2 separate regions of the Homo sapiens genome follow, and region 1 is linked to region 2. Evidence: promoter capture Hi-C in 16 types of primary human blood cells and fetal thymus (Javierre and others, 2016). All regions are on one chromosome and are shown on one strand. Each heading gives the region's core, a stretch centred on a gene start or on the middle of the fragment in contact. The rest is flanking DNA. Distances are from core to core; before and after follow the strand shown. Region 1 overlaps DUS2 (dihydrouridine synthase 2). Region 2 holds the start of RIPOR1 (RHO family interacting cell polarization regulator 1).

What was found. The method cuts DNA at HindIII sites, captures the fragments that hold promoters and counts their contacts. A CHiCAGO score of 5 or more calls a contact.
Region 1: a contact is called between a fragment that was not itself captured here and the fragment with the promoter of RIPOR1 in region 2, in 2 of 17 cell types (naive B cells and erythroblasts). The highest score is 5.3, in naive B cells.

The regions. Positions count from the first base shown.
Region 1 is chr16:68,072,476-68,079,456 of GRCh38, reverse strand. DUS2 (dihydrouridine synthase 2) reads right to left here. Exons shown (of 17, transcript NM_017803.5): 13 at 5,302-5,423; 14 at 3,953-4,102; 15 at 2,738-2,825; 16 at 939-1,012; 17 at 137-708. The coding sequence ends at 471. Among named protein-coding and RNA genes, the nearest start is that of NFATC3, 9.4 kb to the left of the region's middle. RefSeq lists an enhancer at 4,026-4,135. The HindIII fragment of the contact is 1,112 bases long and covers 5,136-6,247 here.
Region 2 is chr16:67,524,156-67,530,989 of GRCh38, reverse strand. RIPOR1 (RHO family interacting cell polarization regulator 1) reads right to left here and starts at 2,161. Exons shown (of 22, transcript NM_024519.4): 1 at 2,076-2,161. It overlaps LOC100505942 (a long non-coding RNA gene), which reads left to right and starts at 2,245. Exons shown (of 2, transcript NR_104656.1): 1 at 2,245-2,673. RefSeq lists silencers at 555-834, 1,835-2,064, 2,095-2,204. The HindIII fragment of the contact is 8,124 bases long and covers 1-5,554 here.

The sequences.
Region 1 (6,981 bases), core at 4,442-6,941, 540 kb before region 2:
CCTAACTTGGCCCAAGTCCAGTGATACCCCATTCCCCACCTCTACCAGACCCACAGAGATGGGCAGGAGATCCACTTTGGAAAGCTCAAGCTCTGCACAGAGGGTGGGAGTAGAATCATGCCAGGACACAAGCCCATTTATGAAGATGCCCAAGGCTGAAGCAGCCAGCCGTGGGTGAGGGTAGGGGGTGTCTTTATTGCACAGTACCAATGTCAGGTTGGGGAGTTACCACCTGAAAAGCTCCTGTTTTCAAAGAGAACTTGACCCTGTCACTCAGATCCACCAAAGGGGCCAGGATCCACCCCTGGGCGGCCCCTGGTCCATGCTCTAGGCTGATGGCCCCTGCCAGGACATCTAACTTCTGCCAGGCAAGACCAGCAAACTGTTCAACGGCATCTGGTTCATGCTGTGGCATCCACAGCCACCTTAGCACCAGGCCCATGGAGGGGTGACTAAGGCAGGAAGAGTAGTCACCAGCCTTCCAGGGGGCTTTCTTCACCACTTCCCAAGGCCACAAAGGGCTTCTTGCACAGATCCCCAGGTTGTGCTAGCTCCTGAGCTCTGGGGCCCCCAGGGTCTTGGTCAGGAGCCTCCCTCTTTCGCTTGTGCAAGGAAGGGCTCTCCTCACCCAGCCGACCCTCAGGGAGGCCCTGGCTCCGCAGACAGACGATGGCTGCAGCCTGCTCCGCCAGTTTCTTGGACTTGTCCCTGAGCAGACAGAGGGCAATAAGGTGAGGGGCAGGGTGCAGGGCTATGAGGCCTGACTCTACACATCCTTGGCAGATTCTGACAAGACTGAGTAAGGGGTCACCATCCAGGGATGCCACTGCCCACATATACCATCTACCCAACCCTCCTAGGACAATGCTGGATGTGTGGGCAGAATGCCCACTCTCCGCCCCACCCCAAGCCTCCTCTCCTATGATAAGGAAACTTACCACAAGGTAGACTGATACTTTTGTTCAGCAACGGTGACAATAGAGGAGAACAGGCGATCTAGAGGGCGTTGAACCTGATACAAAGAGAAAAGGAATCACATGGCCAGAGAAATGAGCCCTGTAGGCCAAACTGCTGGGGTCAAATCAAAGGCAGATAAAAGGAAGTGTTTCCAACCTAAGTCAAATGAAGGCTGCCTGTATCACATGCTCCTCCCAAGCAAAAGTGCCCAGTGGAGAAAGGCACAAATACACAATGACCTCAAGTGTCTGGAGCTGTCACAGACCTAAGCAAAGCGCAGCAGAGCCCTTAGCTGCACATGACTATGGAGCCTCCTGCTGACATCTGGATAGGCCAGGTCCCCAAAATGAGGAGTCACCAGATGCCAAAAGGGTGAGAAGGGACAAGCTAGGAGCAGAGAAGGCACACGTGGCAGAGGGACCAGGTGACTTGGCTGGAGCAAAGGGCTGCAGGGATGAAACTGGAAGGAGCGAGGCACATGGAAGGGTCTCAGGCTCTATGCTGAGGTGCTGGCTTGATCCTTCAGATACTGGGGAGCTGCTGACTTGAGGAGACAGAAGTTAGATTTGTTCTGGAAAAGTCACTGTGGTGGGGGTGGGGGGGAGTGGGGACACAGACACAACCCCCAGAAGGTATAAGCCTTGAGGCCAGAAGACCAGTCCAGATGAGGCAGAGCAGCCTAAGGAAGGCATGGCTGCAAGGACCAAAGGAAGTGAAGCAAGCCTATCTCATGGTTTCCACCCCAGGGGCACCACATCTGGGGCTCAATTCTGTGCCCCATTGGCTGAGGCTTGATCCAAAAACATGTCTGGGCCAAGTGCGGTGGCTCACGCCTGTAATCCTAGCACTTTGGGAGGCCGAGGTCGGGGGATCATCTGAGGTCAGGAGTTCGAGACCAGCCTGGTGAAGATGGTGAAACCCCATCCCTACTGAAAATACAAAAAAGTTAGCCAGGTGTGGTGGTACCCACCTGTAATCCCAGCTACTCAGGAGGCTGACACAGGAGAATCACTTGAACCTGGAGGCGGAGGTTGCAGTGAGCCAAGATCATGCCACTGCACTGCAGCCTAGGCAACAGAGCGAGACTCCGTCTCAAAAAATAAATAAATAATTAAATAATTAAATAAAATTTTTAAAAAAGGCTCATGACCTATAATCCCAGCACTTTGGGAGGCTGAGGAAGGAGGACCACTTGAGCACAGGAGTTTGAGACCAGCCTGCCTGGACAACAAAGCAAGACCCCATTTATTTATTTATTTATTTATTTTGAGACAGGCTGGAGTGCAGTGGCATGATCTCAGCTAACTGCAACCTCTGCCTCCAGGTTTAAGCAGTTCTCTGCCTCAGCCTCCCAAGTAGCTGGGATTACAGGCGCCCACCACCATGTCCAGCTAATTTTTGTATTTTTAGGAAAACGGGGTTTCACCATCTTAGCCAGGCTGGTCTTGAACTCCTGACCTCGTGTTCCACCTGCCTCGGCCTCCCAAAGTTGTGGGATTACAGGCATGAGCCACCGTGCCCGGCTGAGACCACATTTCTAAAAAATAAAAAATAAAAATTAGACTCTGTTTCAAAAAAAAAAAAAAGAGAGATGTCTGGCTGAACTGGACAACAGGCCACTGTAAGAGGGGAGGGCTATCAGCAACTGACCTGGCCACCAGCAGCTTCTCCATGCCTACAGAGGTCAAGGCCAGGCTCCAGCCTGGCAATCTAGAGTTGAGGGTGTAAGCCATGGGAGTGCTGTGACTGGCTGCAGGGCAGGCCACAGCCAGGAACTCACCGTTTCATACACAGGCTGTGCCAACTTCTCCCTCCGGCACCACTCTAGTAGGCACATCTTAGGGGTGATCTGGGCTGGGTATGCTCTCCTGGGGAAAGGAAGGGAAGCAGTTGGGGTCACCCACCATCACCGCTCCCTCCCTCAGCCAGGGCACTACTCAGCTCCTGAAAGGAGCTGCAGAAATGAGAGGAACTGAGACACCGAGCTGCTGCCTTAAGGCTTCTGTACTTGCTCCCCTAGGCTCCCATTCTTGTCCTACCAGCAGCTTGGACCTGGGTTCTCCCTAAAGGGAAGATGAATTTTGGCATGCTCAAGAAATTGTAAGGGAAGGGGGAATGAACTCCCAGTACTCTGAGGTCCAGACTGGAAAAACAATGTTCAACATCCAAGAAGGAAGCTTGCCACTCAAGACAAGATTAGTAGGGAGTGGGTGGAGGTGGGCAATGGAGGTAGCCAGACAATGGTCTCGGGGATCTAGCTCAGCGCCCATCCTGATTCCGCCTGCCAAGTGTCATGATCATCTGCTGCAGCCATGGACACTTGGAATCTGGTTTCAGAGTCAGCCTGTGACAGGGTGACACAGTGACAGGGTGGGAGGGGTCATATTCCAACTTCCCAACTGGAACTCTCCCTGGCATCTGACTGCCCAACAGCTATTCCCCACCACCCTGCTCCCCCTCTCCACACCTCTGCCAGACAAGACTGGCTCCTGTCTGGTCCTGGGGACTGGAGAAAGGCTCAGATCCCAGAGGAGGGCACCATTCAAAGCTGAGTCACAATCTGAGGCGTAAGCAGCTTGAGAGAGCACCACAGAGCTGGTGAGGGGCACTGGGTGTGGGTAGGGGCTGCAGAGCCAAATGAGGGCTAGGGTCCTGCTGTTGTTTGAGGAGCTTCATGCCAGGAGCCAGTTCCTCAGGGCCTTGGAAAAGCACAGACTTTCAGGAACAGGAGACAAGTCCCCCCTGCCCTGAGTTGTGGGAGGCGGTAAATCAGGGAAAAAGTAGAGTTCAGTTATCCTTGGGACAGCCTTTCAGGGACTATCTCCCCTGAAAGCACCTTCTATGGGATGCTGAAAATTTAGAACGAGTTTCCAAACCAACAAGACCTGTGGTCCCTACGTTTGACATTAAGCACATACAGCAGCCAGTGTGCTGGCCCAGTGGGACCCCAAGGGTGCTGGCCCTAGCCCAAGCTGAGGCCAAGCTGGAGACCTACCGGTCAAACTTGACAGCCATCTTAATGACACCAGAGGTATCTTCAGCTGGCTCCCCTGTCTGCTCTGAAGTCTTGGCTGAGAGCCTGGCCTGCTGGGCATCCAGCTCCTGTGTGGTCTCCTCATAGAAGGCACCAAGGCCAAAGGCCTCACTAGGGAGGAAGAAGCAGATCAGAGCAAACACTTTAGCGGAGCCAGCATCCAGGGTACTGCAGGACCCCAGGGCCCCACCACTGAGAAACTCCTCTACCACATACACCAAAACACCACCGGGGCCTGGCCATCAGAATGTGCCCCCTGCCCAGCCCTGGGATTACTGTGGACTGGAAGATGGAAAGTGAATGTGAACCCAAGCGTGGACACTGGAGGGAGGCTGGGCTGGGTGGCAAAGGTTGTAAAGGTCACCCCCACCACCTGCAGCCTCTCTCCTGAGGGGAAGCACACAGATGGTATCCCCAGCCAGCCGTGACTGAGTTAACCAATGCTGATCAAGCACATGGGCCCATGGGAGGAAGAGACAGAGGCCTGACCACTAAGTGGTTCCCCACTTCCCGCCCAGCCACAGGCAGTTATACATGGGTCTCAGCTGACACTGAGGCACCACCCAGAGCTACAGAGTTATGTGGGGTAGGGACTGAACCAATGCCATAAGCCAAGGGTGGGAAGAGGGCTCTGGCAAAGGTTTTTCCCTTCTAGGAAACATCTTGAAGGCTGGAAGACTCAAACGAAGATAGATCCCCAATGGCAAAAGTGGTTCAGAAAGGCATCTATGTAAGAGGGAGGCTACAGATAGCTCACGTGAGAGGGAGAGAGCCTTCCAGGCAGACGACCCATTACAAGCACAGGTGTGGAGTTCTGGAAGCAGACAGGTAGACAGGGAGCTGTGGGGGCAGTGGCTAGGCCAGCTTGTGAAGGGCCTCAACTGTCAACCATCTGAGCTAGAGCTGCACCTGATCTAGAGAATCAACAGGTGGTCTCTCAAACTGCAGGGTGATGGATGTGAGTGCAGGCTCAAGGTAGAGGCTCCATGCTACAGCCCAATTCTCCTGACCACTGGTTCCTGGGGGCCTGGCCTGTGACTATCCCATTTATGGAAAATCCCCTTCCTTTGCATTCCTCTATCCTTCTAGTACCCTAGTTCCCAGAGCTCTGCTGATCCGTCCAGGGATGGGACGTTTCAAAGCTTTCAAAGAATCCCCTCCTGGGAGGCAAAGCTGTACCATCACTCCACTCCTCTACATCTACATCCAGAAGCTGTGTCCCTGGTCCCCTGGTGGAGTCAGCTTAGGGCTCAAAGTCAAACTTGGGCAATGCGTACAAGGACAGATGGACATCTTATTGTGCCTCTTACCAAATTTCCCGGGAAGACTGGGCAGCATGGAGCAACCTTCCCTGGGGCGACTCCAGCTGTTCTCGTAGCATCTGGCACAAGCAGTACTTGGTGTTGGTGTAGTGGTTGTCATACTGCACCGCCTGAGAAAAGAAATGACTTGCCTGATGCCCAGGCAGGCTCTAAGGCCTGGGCTATGCTCTGATGGCAGGGAAAGGAGCTCCAAGAAGGCACCAGAGATGTATGTGTAGCCAAGGCAATGTGACCCCCATAAGAAGAACCACCACTGGCCAGGAGCAGTGGCTCACATCTGTAATCCCAGCACTCTGAGAGGCCAATGCAGGAGGACTGCTTGAGGCTAGGAGTTCAAGAGCAGCCTGGGCAACGTAAGACTCAACTCTACAAAAATTAAAAAAAAGAAAATTATCGGCTGGGCACGGTGGCTCACGCCTGTAATCACAGCACCTTGGGAGGCCAAGGCGGGCGGATCACCTGAGGTCAGGAGTTCAAGACCAGCCTGACCAACATGGTGAAGCCCCGTCTCTACTAAAAATACAAAATTAGCTGGGCGTGGTGGCGGGTGCCTGTAATCCCAGCTACTCGGGAGGCTGAGGCAAGAGAATCGCTTGAACCCTGGAGGCGAAGGTTGCGGTGAGCCAAGATCGTGCCACTGCACTCCAGCCTGGGCGACAACAGCAAAACTCTGTCTCAAAAAAAAAAAAAAAAAGAAAAAGAAAATTAGCCAGGCATGTTGGCACACACCTGTAGCCATAGCTACTAGGGAGGCTAAGGCAAGAGGATTGCTTGCACCCAGGAGTTGTGGCTGTAGTGAGCTATGATCATGCCACTGCACTCCAGCCTGGGCAACAGACTGAGACCCTATCTAAAATTAAAAATAAAAATAAAAATAAATTAAAAAGCCACTTCGACCTTGGTCATCTACTCTTCCAGCTAGTGGTACAAAGCTTGAGGGTCACAGCCAAGGACCACGGTCAGAAACACATTCTCCTGGACAGCCTGACTGAGGTCTCGAAGTGCGGGAGCCCCTTCCTGCTTCAGCCACCACAGAGGACCTACTGCCAAGTATCTTCCAGGGAAGGGAGGGGAAACACACCAAATTCTGGCATGGCAGGTCCAGTGCCAGGAAAGGGGTGAGATTCTTCTATTCCTTCTAACCAGAATGGGCACCTTCCCTTCCCACATCTTGAATAGCCTCTAACTTCCCCCTACGTGGGTAAAACACAGCATCATTTAGTTCACATGGGTTACTCATGACTACATTTATCTATACAAGTGTGAGGTGCAACTGTCACCATCACTCCACAGACCGTGAAATGAAGGCTCAGGGAGGCAAGATGACTGACTGCCTGGGACACCCAGTGGAAGTCGGCTGGCTAGAGGTAGGGCAGGAGAGCAGTATTGGGTGAAGGTGGCCTTCCCCAGCCCTCCAGGACACCCTCCCATCCCCCACCCCCTATGCTGCTCTAGTAACTCCACGTGGGCCTATGACTTCAGTGGCTGGGAAAGTGCCACGGCACGCTCAGGACAAAGTGGGAAGTAAGTCGGGGCGCCCCGGCTGGTGGCAAGTCCTTGACTCAGCTTGTCTGGGAAGAAGGCACCTGGCTGGACCAGAAGCAGCCCTGCCTATGCTTGAAAGCCGCTCCCTTTCTCTGTGATAGCACACCCTCTTGAGGAGCTGCC
Region 2 (6,834 bases), core at 912-3,411:
AATGTCCATCTGAGTGACCGCTTCGGGAGATGGGCGGGCAAGATTGCCCTTGCTGGGTGAGAGCAGGTAGGGAAAGAGCTGAACCCCTTGAGCTAAGGCAGAAGGGCCACCTCAACTGGTGGGGGACTGGCTGATAAGAACCAGGGGACTCTCTGGGCTCATGTCAGCCCTATAGTCTGTTCCCAGGATGGGAAATAACCCAGATCCAAGGTTCCAAAGGTTATGGGGCTTGCAGCACAGCCAGGTCAGGATGGCCGTGAGTGGAGGAGCCCTGACCTGTCCGCATGGCCCCAGATCTTGCAGCCCCGCTATACTTCCTACACACCAAGACTGGCACACCCGGGTGCGGCGGAATATCCCACCACCTGGGCTGCCCATCTCAGCACTGTGCCAGGCCAGCTGCCTCTCTGGGAGTCCCCGGGTCTAGCCCCGCCCCACCCCGGGGCCGCCCCGACCGAGGTAAACAGAGGCTAAAAATAACCTGGGCAAGGGGCGGCTGCAAGGGAGAAGGGGGTCCCTTCTGAGCCTGTCCTTGTCTCCATGGCAACTGCCCCCAAACCCGGCGGCTGACGTCATCTCGCAGCTGCCCAAGCGTATAGGAGGGAGGGGGAGCGGCACAGCCCCGGACCCCCCACCCCGGAACCGGGCGGAGGCTGTCGGGTGGCCTCACTTCCTGCCGGCCCCCTCCCTGGTCAGCTGGTTACATTCCCTGGCCGCGCGCTGGGAGCCAGGCGGCCTCCCCCGGGCCGGGCCTGGCCAGGGCTGAGTCCGAGCGGCGACGCAGAGGGGCCGCCGTGACTCACCCGCGCCCTCCCCGCCCGCTTCTCTCAAGCGGGACCCAGCCCAGAGTCCTGAGTCCTCCCCTCACCCGCACCCAAACCCAGACCCCTGGGGCGGCTCACCTTGCTCCTCTCTCCCGCCGCAGTCACAGGACCCAAGCCGGAGAGGGCGGTGGAAGAAGGAGCTATGCCAGTCCTCCTTGTCCCGCTGGAGTATTTTGTACCTCAGCCCCCAATTATCATTCCTCTCCTCCCTCCAATACCACGGAGGTGGGTGTCGCAGGGGCAAGGACTCAGATCTAATCCTCGCTTCTCCCAAACCAGCTGTGTGACCTTGAGAATACTACTAACCTCTCTGGGCCTGTTTCTGCATCTGCCAGATGGTCATAACCCTCCTCAGATGCTGTGCGTTGGCCGAATGCGGCAGGCCCAGGGCGCGGCCCCGCAGACTGCAGCCAGGGCACAAGTATTGTTACACGAGGCTGCGCACAGTAGGTGCTGGGGCGGCCAGCCTGGACACACGTTAGAACTGGCTGGGGAGGGTCTGTAGGGGAGGCCGGACTCAGGGCTCACCCTGGAGAGGAGGACAAAGGGTGCTGAATCTGGACTGAATCCGACCTCTAGCCCTGGTGAGCAGCCCCTTGCCCAAACCAGTTCTGCAGAGAGCCCAGGCCCGGCTGTTGCAGGAACCTTGCGCCAACCTCCATTTCCAGGGAAAAGCTCCGTTCCCCGACAAGGACGATCCTCTCCGGCTTCGGCTACGCCAGGTTTGGGCGGAGAGCCCGGCTCCAGCCCAGGCTCGGTCACCTCGGGGCCGGCCACAAAGCCGCTTAGGCCGGCCCCTAGAGCTAGGAGGATTAGCTCAGCTCCTAGGCCGGCCCGCACCCTTCGTCGCCCCCTCCCCATTTCCAGCCCAGCCTCCCCTGCGGCGAAGGCAGCAAGGGCTCCCAGGGAGCGCGCGTGCCAGGGCCCAGGCTGGCGCCTTGAGCCCGCTCTCTGGCCTGGCCCATCCCAGCGCCCCGGGGCACCGGCCGCCAGGGCCTTGCCGTGGGAGGAAGGCAGCAGCGCCAGGCTCTGCAGGCCCGGAGGCGGCGGCTTTTGTGGGAGAAGCTGCGTTCTCCACGCCCGGGGGGAGGGGAGGAAAGACAAGGCGCGGCCGGGGTCCGGGAGATGGGGTGAGGCGGGACAGAGCCGCAGATCCCGGACCCACCGGGCGGCGCCGGCGGGGGGGCACCAGAACCTCCGCGCCTGCTCCCCGCCCGGCCTGCAGCCCCGGAAACGGCGCGGGACACTCACATGGCTGCGCTGGGCTGCGCGGACCTCGCGCTGTCCTTGCGCTCGGAGGTGCCCGGCCTGGTCGCGCCGCAGCTGCCGCTGTCGCCGCCGCAGGCGCCGGCCCCTCCCTCCGCCCGCCGCCCCGCCGCCCCTCCCCTGGCCCGCCGGGCCCCACCCCCTGCGCTCCCGCGGCTCCCGCACCCCTAGAGGCGCCCACGGCTCGCTCCGCCCTCTCGGATAACGGGGCAGGCCGGTGGCCCACGCAGCCCACCAGCTTGCAGGGAGGGCAGACCCTGGGGGATGTGAGGGAGGCTTTCTCACGCAGACCCTAAAACGGTGAGCGCCAGGGAGCCCCGCCTGCTTGTCCCCTCCCCAGATCCCTCGGGCTCTGGAGACCTTGCGGGCCCCCTGTCCGTGACCACCTGAAACAGGTCCTGGAGCTGCTACTGCTGGCTTAGGCTGGTTGGTGGAAAGGATCCAGGGCTGTTGTGAAGGCCTTGGGGAGTCCAGAAGCCGCCTGGCACCTTCTGGGTCCAGACGCTGCCCTTCAGCCCTGCCATTTCAGCCAGCCTCAGCGTCGCTGTAGAGGCAGGCCGCCCTTTCTGCCACTGTCTGGCTGGTAAGTCCAGGCTCATAGCCGGGTCATGCATTCCCCACTCATTGGGTACTGGTTTTCGGGCAGTCTTGGGGTGGGGACGCTGGCAGGGTCCGGGTACAGGGCCATGTGTTGGGCAACCCAGTCCTTTCCAAAGCCGGGGCTAGAATGCTGGCCCTCCACACAGTCGGTAAAGGTGGGGCTGAGAGTCGACCCCATGTTGGGGTCAAAGGGCCAGTTCCACTCCCCCGCTCCTCCCATCAATCAGACACCCCTGGCCCTTCCAACCTGGACACCCCTGAGGCTTCTCCAGGCCTTGCACTCCCGCAGCCCTCATGTATGTCAGACCTACCCAGGAATGGTTTCAGGGACAGTAAGAGGTCCCTGAATATCTGTACCCCGCCCCCACCAGTCCTGAGGGCTGTTTTTTTGTGTGTTTTGCTTGTTTGCTTGGTTTTGTTTGGTCGGGTTTTTTTTTTTTTTTTTTGAGACAGAGTGTCACTGTCGCCCAGGCTGGAATGCAGTGCAAGCTCCACCTCCCAGGTTCATGCCATTCTCCTGCCTCAGCCTCCCGAGTAGCTGGGACTACAGGCGCCCACACCACGCCCGGCTAATTTTTTGTATTTTTGGTAGAGATGGGGTTTCACCATGTTAGCCAGGATGGTCTCGATCTCCTGACCTCGTGATCTGCCCGCCTTGGCCTCCCAAAGTGCTGGGATTACAGGCATGAGCCACCGCGCCCAGCCTGTTTGGTCGGTTTTTTAGAGATGGGCTTTCTTCATGTTGCTCAGACTGGTCTCTAACTGGGCTCAAGCGATCCTCCCACCTTGGCCTCCCAAAGTACTGGGATTACAGGCTTGAGCCACCTCTGCCTCACAGTTCTCCACTCTCCAGCCCCTCCTCTTGGGCTTCCTTTGTAGTGCCCTTTTCTTTCTTTCTTTTTTGTTTTTTTTTGGGGGACGGAGTCTCCCTCTGTTGCCCAGGCTGGAGTATAGTGGCGTGATCTCGGCTCACTGCAACCTCCGCCTTCTAATTTCTATATTTTTGGTAGAGATGTCCCGGCTAATTTTTATATTTTTGGTAGAGATGGGGTTTCACCATGTTGGCCAGGCTGGCCTCCACCTCCTGGCCTCAAGCGATCCACCCACCTTGGCCTCTCAAAGTGCTGGGATTACAGGCATGAGCCACTGGGCCGGTCAGTGCCCTTTTCTCTGAAGTCCTTAAACCTGGGCATGACTTCCAGGGGCTGAGTTCTTCTCTTTATTCACCCTACCCTAAAATATCATCCAGTCTCAGGGCTCCCATCCATTCACTGCTGACCATCCCAAACTTCCCTCTGTGCCCAGAGCCCTCTCCTGTTTCAGAGCCCCTGGCTGCTTTCTGGTTGACTCACCAGTCCTCAGCATTGTCCCCATCCCTACAAAGCACCACTGTCTACCCAGGCATCCACCTGAGCTAGAGACTGGGGTTTTCTGGAGTTCTCAAAGCTGGCACCAATTGGCCTCTGCCCACCCCTAAAGTCACCTCTCAGCCAGGCATCTTCTGAGTACTTTCTCTGCAGACACCCTCTGTTCCAGCCTCCTATTGACTCCTTTCATACTGCTCACCATGGCCAGGCAGCAGTGTGCACACCATGTGTGCTCATGGGCCTGACCCTGCCTGACTGTGTTGTCTCTAAGTAGTGTGCGGGTAGGAACCACAGAAGTCCTTATCATCAAGGTGCCTGGCTCATAGTGGGAGTTCAAGAAATATTTGTTGAATGAGCAAGTAACTGAACGTGTAAATGCATGAGCCCTTGGCATCCCCCTCTCCTGCCCTCACCTTCCTTTAGCTGCCCAGTCCTCTTGCTTCTTTCTCCTTAACATCTTTTGAATTAATTCCCTCCCCCTACCATGCCCACCCACTCCAGAAGATAGTCCATACTATGTGGTAGGGCCTCCAAGGCCCAGGAGATCTGGCCTCAGATGACCTCACCTCCTTATCTTGCACTTATTCTGCGGCCCCTGTGATCTGGCTTCCACTACACTCCCAGCCTGCAGCTCCCTGGATGCAGCCTCCACCCTCTGGCCTCTGCCTTTTTTCCCAGCCTCCCTTCTGCCTAGGATGCTTCTCCCCCTCATCCACTTGGAAAACAGCTCAGATGTCCCTTCCTCCAGGGAACCTGTGTCCTCTGAGCACCCATTACTGCCTATTGTCCTTGTCCATGGCCAGGCCTGTGACCACCAGACCAGGCACAGATGGCGCTGCAGTGATTAAATGGAACACCTGGGAGTTCACCTGGCTCTTCCCCCACATCCAAGGGGCCTCGAGGGAAGGGCAGCATCCCTCCGAGGGTCACAGGGTCCTGGTGGCTTTCAAAGCCTCTCCCTAACAATTGGTGAGCTAAGCACAGGGGAGGACACAGCTTGAAACCCACTTCAAAGAGGAGACACCTGAAGCTCAGGGAAGGCAAGAACTTCCCATAGAAACTGTCACATCGTTGGGAAGGGCAGACTCTGAGCTCCAACTTGGCTCCCTGGGTCGTGGTCAGCTCGGCCCTGTTTGAATCAGGCATCATTTCCTGAGCCCTGTCCTCTGCCTGGGACTCAGCTGGTAGCTGTGGTGTGTGTAGAAAGGAATTATGAGCACTTCTAACCACTGGGAGATCACATTCTCAGAGGGGTGGACTCAGGCCTGAGAAAAATCCCTGGGACAGACAGCAGAGGGTGGTGAGAGCCGCAATGAACCCCCAGTCCTCACACACGGCACTGCTAGTTCCATTTCAGAAGTAATGCAGTTCAAGTCCGAAACCCCAGAAAAACCGCGGCTTCCCTCACCCCACCCTACAGCCCCCGCGGATGACAACTCTCTGCCATGCAACCCCCACCCCCATCCCAGCTTTCTGTGAACAGATAGAATAGAAGCTTGCCCTGGACTGTGCCTGGGGCCACATCATTCATTCATTTGCCAGATATACAGCAAGCATTTGTGGAATGTCGGCTGTGCCCGGGCCACCCTGGGGTGACCAGAGGTGAGATCTCCCTAGTTCCTTCCCACAGGGCTCACAGTCAAAGAGAACAGGTATGTCCAAGTCTCTGCACCTCCCAAGTCCCCAAATGCTGAGGGTGTGTGTGTATGTGAGTGTGTGGGACTGTGTCTGTGTGCACATGTGTGCTAGTTAGGAAGGGCTTTGCAGAGAAGGGGCCCTTAGCGTGGCTCTTTGTTGGGGCTCCCTAGGCAGACAGTGGGTAGGTCCTGGAAGGAGCAGCTGAGGCTGGGGGAGCAAGAGTTTAAGCCACAGGAGAAAGGAGCAGCCTCTTTTGCTGAACCAGAGCAAAAGCTGGAGAATTGCGTGCGGGGCCTTGGGGCCGGCTGGGGAGCAAGGATTTTACCCTTGGGGTGATGGGGAGCCTGGGCTTTAGGCTGGGGGATTTTGTGGTCATATCTGTGCTTTGCAAACGTCACTCAGGCACTGTGTGTGTGTATGAGGGGAGGCAGGAGGCCTCAAGGAGGCTGGTGCAATTTCCAGCCCAGTGGATGGTGGCCTGGGCCAGGGTAGGGGCCGTGGGGATGGAGAGGAGACATTTAAGAGATGTTCAGGAGGCAGAATGCAGAGCTTGGTGACTGAAGGGATGTGGAGTCTGGAGAGAGGGAGACATCCCAGATGAGGCAGGGGCTTTGGGCCTGGGTGATGGGTGGATAGTGGGATAATGGTGTTTTTTAATGAGGTGGGGAGGCCTGAAGGATCTGGTTAAGGGAAAGGTAATATGGTCAGTTTGGGCAGGTGGCATCTGAGGGATCTAGGGACCACCAAGGAGGAAGTGTCCAGAAGGCAGCTGGACAGGCAGGGAGAAGAGAGAGGGGTCTGAGCTGGAGACATCTTCTGGGGGGAACAGTGGTCAACTGGGTCACCAAGAGATCAAGTAAGGAAAGGCCCAAAGCACCACGGCCTGTTGGAGCACTTCAGTGCATGGTGGGGCAAAGGCAGGCTTGGAGGAGGTAGGTATGAGGCTTGCGGGTATACTTGACCCACCACCAGCCTCCACACCCCTCCAGCCCCAGCCTGGACTCTACTTTCCTTTGTGTGTGTCAAAAGACAAGAGCCAGGGATGCTGCTCCACATTCAAGTCCTGGCTTTACCACTGTCATCAGGCTTCTCCTAGAGCCATTTCTCCTTTCTGATGCTTTAAGTGCACCCATCCGTTT